Linked DNA regions of Homo sapiens: all the other regions are linked to region 1. Evidence: promoter capture Hi-C in 16 types of primary human blood cells and fetal thymus (Javierre and others, 2016). All regions are on one chromosome and are shown on one strand. The core of a region is centred on a gene start or on the middle of the fragment in contact, and the rest is flanking DNA. Distances in the headings are between cores, read along the strand shown. Region 1 holds the start of GNB5 (G protein subunit beta 5). Region 2 has its middle 37 kb from the start of ONECUT1. Region 3 has its middle 37 kb from the start of ATOSA.

Region 1 (2,775 bases), core at 155-2,654:
GAAAATACTCTGGAGTCAGTGGCAATGGTTGCAAATCCTTGTAAATAAACTTAAAAAACACTGAAATATATGTTTTAAAATGATGGGTTTTAAAACATGAAACAAAACGTGGACATCATATCTCAATAAATTTTTTTTTTTTTTTTTTTAGACAGAGTCTTGCTCTGTCGCCCAGGTTGGAGTGCAGTGGCGCAATCTCGGCTCACTGTAAGCTCCGCCTCCCAGGTTCATGCCATTCTCCTGCCTCAGCCTCCCAAATATCTGGGAATACAGGCGCCCGCCACCTCACCCGGCTAATTTCTTGTATTTTTAGTAGAGATGGGGTTTCACCGTGTTAACCAGGATGCTCTCAATCTCCTGACCTCATGATCTGCCCGCCTCAGCCTCCCAAAGTGCTGGGATTACAGGCATGAGCCACCGCGCCCAGCCCAAAGATTATTTTTAAAATGGACAAAAGGCTTGTGTAGTCACTTCACAAATGAGGATACTTATATGGTCAATAAACATATAAAAAGGTGCTCATTATCATTAGTCATCATAGAAATACAAAGTAAAACTACGATGTGATACAACTACTTAGCCATCAGAAAACCTAAAAAGCCTGACAACACAAAGTGTGGGCAAGGATGCAGAGACTGGAACTGCCTTTCTCTGCTAGTGGGAGTATAAGTCGGTATAACCACTGTAGAAAACTGGTTGGTAGGAGCTACTAAAGTGAAACGGATATAGTCTATGACCAGGCAATTCTACTCGTGCATACATACACCACAGAAAATAATGCTTATTTCCTTAAAAAAAAAAAAAAAAAAAAAAAAAAAAAAAAAAAAAAAACATAAATGTCATAGCAGCTATTCATAGAAGGCCTAAACTTGAAAGACCCAAATGTTCACCAGTCACAGACGAAACTGTGAAATGAGCATAGAATAAAAAATAACTGATACACACAATGTGGATGTATCTCAGACTTACAACTAAAAACCTCTTTCTAACCCCATAAGCTGTACTCAGAGGCTTATGTTGCCATGTGTCACCTGGATCAAATTTTAAAACTGACTTAGTGATTTTAAGTATGCTTAATCTCTTTCCTGATGCCAATATTAATGTAAAAAATATTGAAATATTTCAATTTGAAATATTTGAAATTTACTATTTCAAAATAAATTCATGTGTATTGTAGAAAAATTAGATTCTACGGATTAACAACAACAAAACCCCTCACCCATGCTCCCACCGCACAGAAAGACCTGCTAACACTGTGCCCTGTACTCATCTGGATGCTTTTCTGAGCATTTCAAAAGCTGGAGTATTTTAACCGAATGTCAGCATGCACATACCTTCCAGAGTCAGCACTGGGAGCCACAGAGCAGATGGTGAGAGGTGAGGACCAGCGCGCAGCTTGAGGTGTGAAGCACGTCTCCCACTGGCTAATCTCCTTATCTTCTCTGGAGTGCTGCTCAGCTTGCTTCCTTCCTCCACAGCACTTCCATGCTCCCTGCTGGGCACGCACTGCCATCTGCATCCCTCACTCACCCCTGGAACCTGCCCAGCCCCTCTGTGGAGGGAGGCCTTGGCAGGTTTGACCTCTGTGTCTGCGCCCACTCACTGAGCAGCCCTCACATTCACCTGGGCCACATGTTCTTAACATTTCTCTATTTTGGTCTCCTTGCCACTGTCAGCTTTGTAGAACTGATCAAGACTGTGGGATGAGTGCCTCCCTTTCCCCATTTTTCCACACATAAACTCCTCAGCCTCCACAGGTCTCCCTGTCCCCAAACATGACCTACTTTTTCCCATGGTTGACTCCCCACCACACACACACAGTCCTCCAACGGGACTTTGCTCCTTCAGTTCTCTTCCCACCTCATCAGCAGTAGGATGAAGGCAGGGATGAGGAGGATGTGGCACCTGCCCTCTGGGGCTCACAGGCCTACAGAGGAAATGGGCAGCATTTCTGGCTTCCAGTCCAGGGTAAGTGCTATAAAACAGGCATAAATCCTGAGTTATGGAAGCCGAAAACCAACAGTGATGGCTCCTCATGGTGTGGGGAAGGTCTAGAAAGGGCATGGAGGCCGCAGCTCAGGATCAGAAACCCTGCCAATTCTCTGCCAAGTAGCCCCTCATTCTGACAGTGTGGAAGCGCCCTGGAGACACAGCCTAAGCCAGCACTTATGACATATTTACTTCTTCTCTAAACATTTTAATATACTTTAAATGAGATATTATGAATCTATAAAGATTCTAGCATCTTTCAGTATGACCGTAAAGAAAGGCATACAACTTGTACACTTAAGAGACATGTCATCTCCTCGCAATGAAAGAATCTGACCCAATTCATTTGGTAATTAATTTTATTGATTAAAGTATTACAAAGTTCTACTTTTCATTTTTTCATGTACAATGTATTGAAATGAACTAAACTCAATCACTTATAATATAAAAAGACATTATTATGTATTAGCAGGGTGATGCTTCATAATCATGTATTATTCCTACCTCTAAGACACCAGTCTGTATTATAGAATCACAGCTGTCACCTGTGACTGTCAGAAACAGAAGGTGCAATTGGGATTCTTAGGTTGGTGACAGAATAGCACTGGATCCACAGGCCAGAGACTAGGAGTGCTTATCAAATGAGGTTTTAGGCTCTGAAAGGAAGGAATGAGAAGGTGTGCCGGGACAAGGAATAGCCAGTTCCCATAAAACTTGGGAAACGTAGATTTCTCAAAAGTAGGGTCCGACACAATTTTTTAGTTACTTTTTGAGAAAATTTAAAAA
Region 2 (2,775 bases), core at 145-2,644, 560 kb after region 1:
CTGTGTCTCCATGCCCTGCCCCCTGCCTTGAAGCAATTCAGAAACTTGGGAAAACCTAGAGGATTTCCAAATTCAAGTTAGCTTGTCTCTCTGAGTTTTTACACTCTACTTTTCATACCCGTGCGAATGGTTAAAAAAAAAAAAAAAAAAAAGAAGTAGCAAAGTATCTCACAAATGCCGGTGCTTTGAAATATTAAAAAAGTCTCAAATTCTTTGGAATTTCAGGTCTTACCTGCAAAGTAATCTTTTCTAAAAAAAAATTAATAAATTAAAGGAAGAACACGAACAATGCCTTTCTTCTGTCTAAATGACAAAAAGGACTATCTTGAAACACTCACTTTGGCATGTACAAGTTTCTGAGGGGGACCTGGCAGTGTTTACAGCACACATTGAAGTACCTACTAAGAAAAAGCTAAAGATACACCCTGCAGTTAAGAGAAGCTCTTGCCTTCAGCTTATCTTAGCATCGAGAACAAAAAGATTGTAACATAAAGCTTTGGCCATTTTGATTCTACTATATACATTTTAAAAACTACACAGTCATAAATTAAAGCAGTGATTAAATAAGCTCATATAAAATGTAATTAAATTAAAAAAAATCACAGCACATTATAGAGAAAAATAGGAACCAGCTTCACAGAAAAGAGATTTTATATATATATATTTTTTTACCCTGTGGAAACAAATTTTCTACGGAACACAAAAACTTCATAAGTAACCATCAAAATGAAAATCATTTCGTATTCCATTCTTGCATTTTTACACAACCCTTAACTCACCCGGGGAATATTTCCAGAAACTAAGTCTTCCTTGAGCAATAGAGCAGTTCTGCCAAGAAAATAAACCCCAAATCAAAGAGGGGGGGGGGACATCCCAAACATACAAACTACAAAATAAATAAGAATTATAAAGTTTTTTTTAAAGTAACCTTAACAATTATCAAACTAGTAAGTTCTGCCTTATCACATAGACTCTCTATACAACATAACCCTAAAACTTTATTACTATGAGGTATTTGGAGGAATTGGTAAAAGTTATGCACGGCCTGCCTGGTGGAGGGACAGGTGAAGTCAGGTGGGGGGAACTTGAGAGGGAACAAGGAGGAGGAGCTTTGGTTTATCAGCAAGAAATTGGGAAAAAAAAAAGTCATCCTTTGGTATCAAAGAAAGTTTCATTGCATGGTTGCACGGAAAAAGCACCACGGTGAATAATTATTCCTTTTTTTTTCATTAGTGGCCTTTCTAAGAGGCTGAGGTATTCAAAGAGTATAAGGTGAAAGAGGTCAACAGCGGTTTAACACTTTGGTTCAAGCAAGGCACTCGTCCTAGGAGTTTACAAAGTTTGCAACATGTTTGCCTAGAGATTTACAAGTAGAACTAGCAGTAATAAGAGTAGTATTTCCTAATGTTGTTGTTGTCATTATTGTATCATTATTAAGAATGAAGACAAGTTTACACACTGAGTGAAGAGTTAGGAAGGGGGAGGGGTGGGGGAAGGGAAGGGGCGGAGTTCCCTCTGCAGACTGAGACCGTGCATGAAAATATCTTTGGTATTCTTTGGTATCATCAATGTGATTAAAATCACCAATGGAAATTGAGTGAGGTAGCGTCTTTGGTTCACACTATAAATAGTAGATCTTTACACTTTTTTTTCTTTTTTTCTTTTTCTTTTTTTTTTTTACACGTGGAAGTCGCTATTTCTTACCTTCTGCTTCTTTGTCCTTACTATTTAGGAAATAGTTACCAAATGTACTGTAAAGCTAACCACACCACAGTAATAACCCAGAAGGCCAAACATGTCTCAAAACAGCCTCTGGTGTTTGAATGCACCCTAAACAACTAGATAGAAAAAGAAGTGCTTTCTCTTTGTTTGCTAAATGCATAGTTTTCATCCTTTATGTACAAAGAAGGGAGGACCTTTCTTAGGGAATATGCCTTTATAGCTCATGTGAAAATGTCCTAGGACTCTTTGGTATAGCAAAGTTTGCATTTAACCTGCAACCACGGTCATTCACCTGGGGTAGCAATGGGAGTGGAATGAATCCAAAAGTAGCGTAGTGCTTTTATATTTTCCTGGAAAAATAATTTCGCTTTTTTGAGGGGGCACAGTGAGTGACATGTTCATTTAGGACTTCTGGATTTCCCACACATTTTCTTTGGTCTTTGGAGTCTATTCCAGCTGCATCCAGGGACTGGAATACTCAATTCCTGACATCCAGAGCTCTTTTACCTGAACATTTACTGAAGTCTGGGGTTTTGGGGTGTCCAGACGTCACAACTCCCTGCCCTCTACAGGAAAGCTTCCAGTGATGAGAGGACCTGAATGTCTTATGGCCAGAAACAGACTAACTTCCATTCTACCAAAAAAAAAAAAAAAAAAAAAAAAAAAAAAAAAAAAAAAAAAAAGGATTACTTTAAGTGCAGTTTTGGAATAAACACATGTACAAATAAAAGAGTAAGATAGATACCTTTTTCTGGTGAATTTTGCAAAAGAATTGAGAAATGATGGGTGAACAAATGGCACATGACCTGCTCTGTGGAATGTAGATTAAAAAACTCAAGCCAGAAATTAATGTTACACTAAATAGGAATGGAAGCATTGTGTTTTTTTTCTACATGCCAGTTCAGGAGCAAGTAAAGAATCAGTCATACATGATGTAATAAGTGTATTGCTTGTGAGAAGCTGAGTTTGTCCATCACGATTTCTAAAAAGCAAAGGGTGTGAGTATGCTCAAACAGTCGAGTAAAAAAATTGCTTTTCAGGCTCTGATTTGTG
Region 3 (2,775 bases), core at 152-2,651, 520 kb after region 1:
TTCTTTTTTTTTTTTGGTGATAGAGACTTGCTCTGTCGCCTAGGCTGGAGTATAGTGGTATGATCTCTGCTCACTGCAACCTCGGCCTCCCAGGTTAAAATGATTCTCCTGCCTCAGCCTCCCAAGTACCTGGGATTACAGGCGTGCACCACCACACCTAGCTAATTTTTATTTTTATTTTTTTTTGTAGAGATGGGGGTTTCACCATGTTGGCCAGGCTGGTCTCGAACTCCTGACCTCAAGTGATCCACCTACCTTGGCTTCCCAAAGTGCTGGGATTACAGGTGTGAGCCACTTCACCTGGGCTGAATAAGCATTTCTAAGCAAAAGTGTTCTTATATTTCATACATTGGGAGTGGTTGCCAGCTATCAGGGACTACAGGTGCATGCAGAGCCCAGCTTTCTGCGTTTGAATGAAAAATTCTTAGACTCCTACACAAAATGTAGCATCACAGAGAGAGCTGACCCTGGCTCCAAGACCCTGGCACCGTGCCCATAGCCCACTTCCTCTTCTTCCCTGGACACCATGTAGCACCATGAAGGCCTCTCTCGTATGTGGGAGGTGAACTCCTACATCCAAACTGCATAACCACATCCCCTTCAAACAGCCACCCCAGGCTACCCTTTAGACCTAAGGACTTGCAACATTCATTGCCAGAAGGCTGGACCCCAGGAAAGAGCCTGCATAGCCTCTGGAAGCAGGCTCAGGACTGTTTGGACAAGGAATTACAGAGTCCAAACAATGATGTTCCAGTCATGGTCCAGAAATGGGTGCTTAGACTAGAAGTGGCATGTCCCTTAGCTCTGCAGTATCCTCGCTTTGCCAAGAGAGGCAATGCCAGAGGATGGCCAGGACAGGGGCTCCTCTTGCCTGGGTCTAAGAAGGGGACGGCCTCCTGCAAAAGTCCCAGTGAATGGTGACAGGGCTGTGACGAAAGAAGGAAAAGGGGTCAGCAATAGGGAAGGTCACATAGGGACTTCATGGTACTTAGAAACTACCAAGCCATGGGAGAACAAAAAAGGAAGGAGGTAACAGAAGACACCAAACTTTCAATCCTGGGTTGTCGGTGGGGCTGGGGGAAATCCTCTAACAGGAAAATCTTCTAAGGTTTCTGTTAGCATTACGATATTTCCCTGACTGAGCAACACTCTTTTCCAAATAGTTTTAAACAGAATTGTTACCCATTCATGTGTTTTCACAATAGTGCATATGTTTAAGCATTTTCTTCATGCATGAAATATAAGTACATTTTTGCTTAGAAATGCTTATTCAGGCCAGGTGTCATGGCTCACACCTGTAATCCCAGCTTTTTAGGAGGCTGAGGCCAGAGGATATTTTGAGGCCAGGAGTTCGAGACCAGCCTGAGCAACATAATGAGACTCCATTTCTAAAATAAATAAATAAAAATAAAAGAGAAGGAAATGTTTATTTACAGCAATATCATACAGCAACATACTTTAGGAAAATGTGTGATTTCTATTTAAATATGTTGTCACCTTAAGCCATACAAATGAACTTGATTCTGTAGCCTTTATGGCTAAGAATTCAGTCAGCTGCAAAATAGGGCTATTGAAACTGCTTCATCACTAATTTTTATTTTTCATTTTATATTATTTTTTGAAACAGTCTCACTCTGTCGCCCAGGCTGGAGTGCAGTGGCATGATCTCAGCTCACCGTAACCTCCACCTCCCAGGTTTAAGCGAGTCTCATGCCTCAGCCTCCTGAGCAGCTGGGATTACAGGGGCACACCACCATGTCCACCTAACTTTTGTATTTTTAGTAGAGTTGGGGTTTCCCCATGTTGGCCAGGCTGGTCTCAAACTCCTGACCCCAAGGGATCCACCTGCCTCAGCCTACCAAAGTGCAGGGATTATAGGCGTGAGCCACTGTGCCTGGTCAATCACTAATTTTTAAAGTCCACTTTTAGAGTATAACGGGGTGAGATTTTACTAAGCCTGAGCCCTCAAAAGTATAAGATATGGCTTTTTTTTTATTACAGGCTAATCCAGCTGGATCATAGGAAAGAAATATGTAGATGGACTATAATTATTGTGGTTGGAACATAGCCGTGACAGCTAGCCAACAATCCAGTCAGAAAAACATGGTTTTGTTGTTTGTTTGTTTCATTGCTTTTGTGAGACATCAGTTTGTGCCAGATAACTCTGAGAATGTAATTGAAATCTAGAGTTATTGTTCTAAACTCACTTATGAGAAATAAAAACATGTCTTTCTTTTAAAGTAATCCATTAAATGCTTACTTGAAAGATAAAAACATTTATTTAGTCTTATGAAAGTTTCCATTAATAAATAATAAATTGCAGAATTCCCAAGATGGTTTTTCCTTAGTAGAGATTTTTAAAATGTTTCACTCTTTCTCTTAATATTGATAACTACGCCAGGTAAACCACACAGAATTAAGTGCATCTTGGGTTAAAGGCCCTTAGAGCATTCCAGATGTCTCAGGTATCCACAATGTATCCCAAATCAGAGTCCAAGAGACATTGAAAAGGACTGAAGCAGGACATAACCATGGGTGACAAGATCTTCATCTCCAACTTTATGTGCTTTGCAGTTCACAGAATGCATTTGGTAAACCCAAGGTCTCAAACAGGGGTGGTAAAAGCTAGGGGTAGAGGTGGGCCCAATATGGCTACTAAGGAAATGTATGGCCAGGCACAGTGGCTCACGCCTGTAATTCCAGGACTTTGGGAGGCCAAGGCGGGTGGATCACTTGAGGTTAGGAGTTCAAGACCAGCCTGGCCAACATGGTAAA

What was found. The method cuts DNA at HindIII sites, captures the fragments that hold promoters and counts their contacts. A CHiCAGO score of 5 or more calls a contact.
Region 2: a fragment that was not itself captured here is called in contact with the fragment with the promoter of GNB5 in region 1 in 4 of 17 cell types (activated CD4 T cells, total B cells, naive B cells and 1 more); the score reaches 7.7 in activated CD4 T cells.
Region 3: a contact is called between a fragment that was not itself captured here and the fragment with the promoter of GNB5 in region 1, in 7 of 17 cell types (naive B cells, activated CD4 T cells, non-activated CD4 T cells and 4 more). The highest score is 8.2, in naive B cells.

Annotation. Positions count from the first base shown.
Region 1 is chr15:52,189,988-52,192,762 of GRCh38, forward strand. It overlaps GNB5 (G protein subunit beta 5), which reads right to left and starts at 1,405. Exons shown (of 13, transcript NM_016194.4): 1 at 1,335-1,405. It overlaps MYO5C (myosin VC), which reads right to left. Exons shown (of 41, transcript NM_018728.4): 41 at 2,335-2,775. The region is part of intron 2 of CERNA1 (competing endogenous lncRNA 1 for miR-4707-5p and miR-4767); the gene reads left to right. RefSeq lists an enhancer at 1,503-2,002. The HindIII fragment of the contact is 7,593 bases long and covers 1-2,775 here.
Region 2 is chr15:52,751,744-52,754,518 of GRCh38, forward strand. No RefSeq gene overlaps it. Among named protein-coding and RNA genes, the nearest start is that of ONECUT1, 37 kb to the right of the region's middle. The HindIII fragment of the contact is 1,805 bases long and covers 493-2,297 here.
Region 3 is chr15:52,714,656-52,717,430 of GRCh38, forward strand. No RefSeq gene overlaps it. Among named protein-coding and RNA genes, the nearest start is that of ATOSA, 37 kb to the left of the region's middle. The HindIII fragment of the contact is 7,050 bases long and covers 1-2,775 here.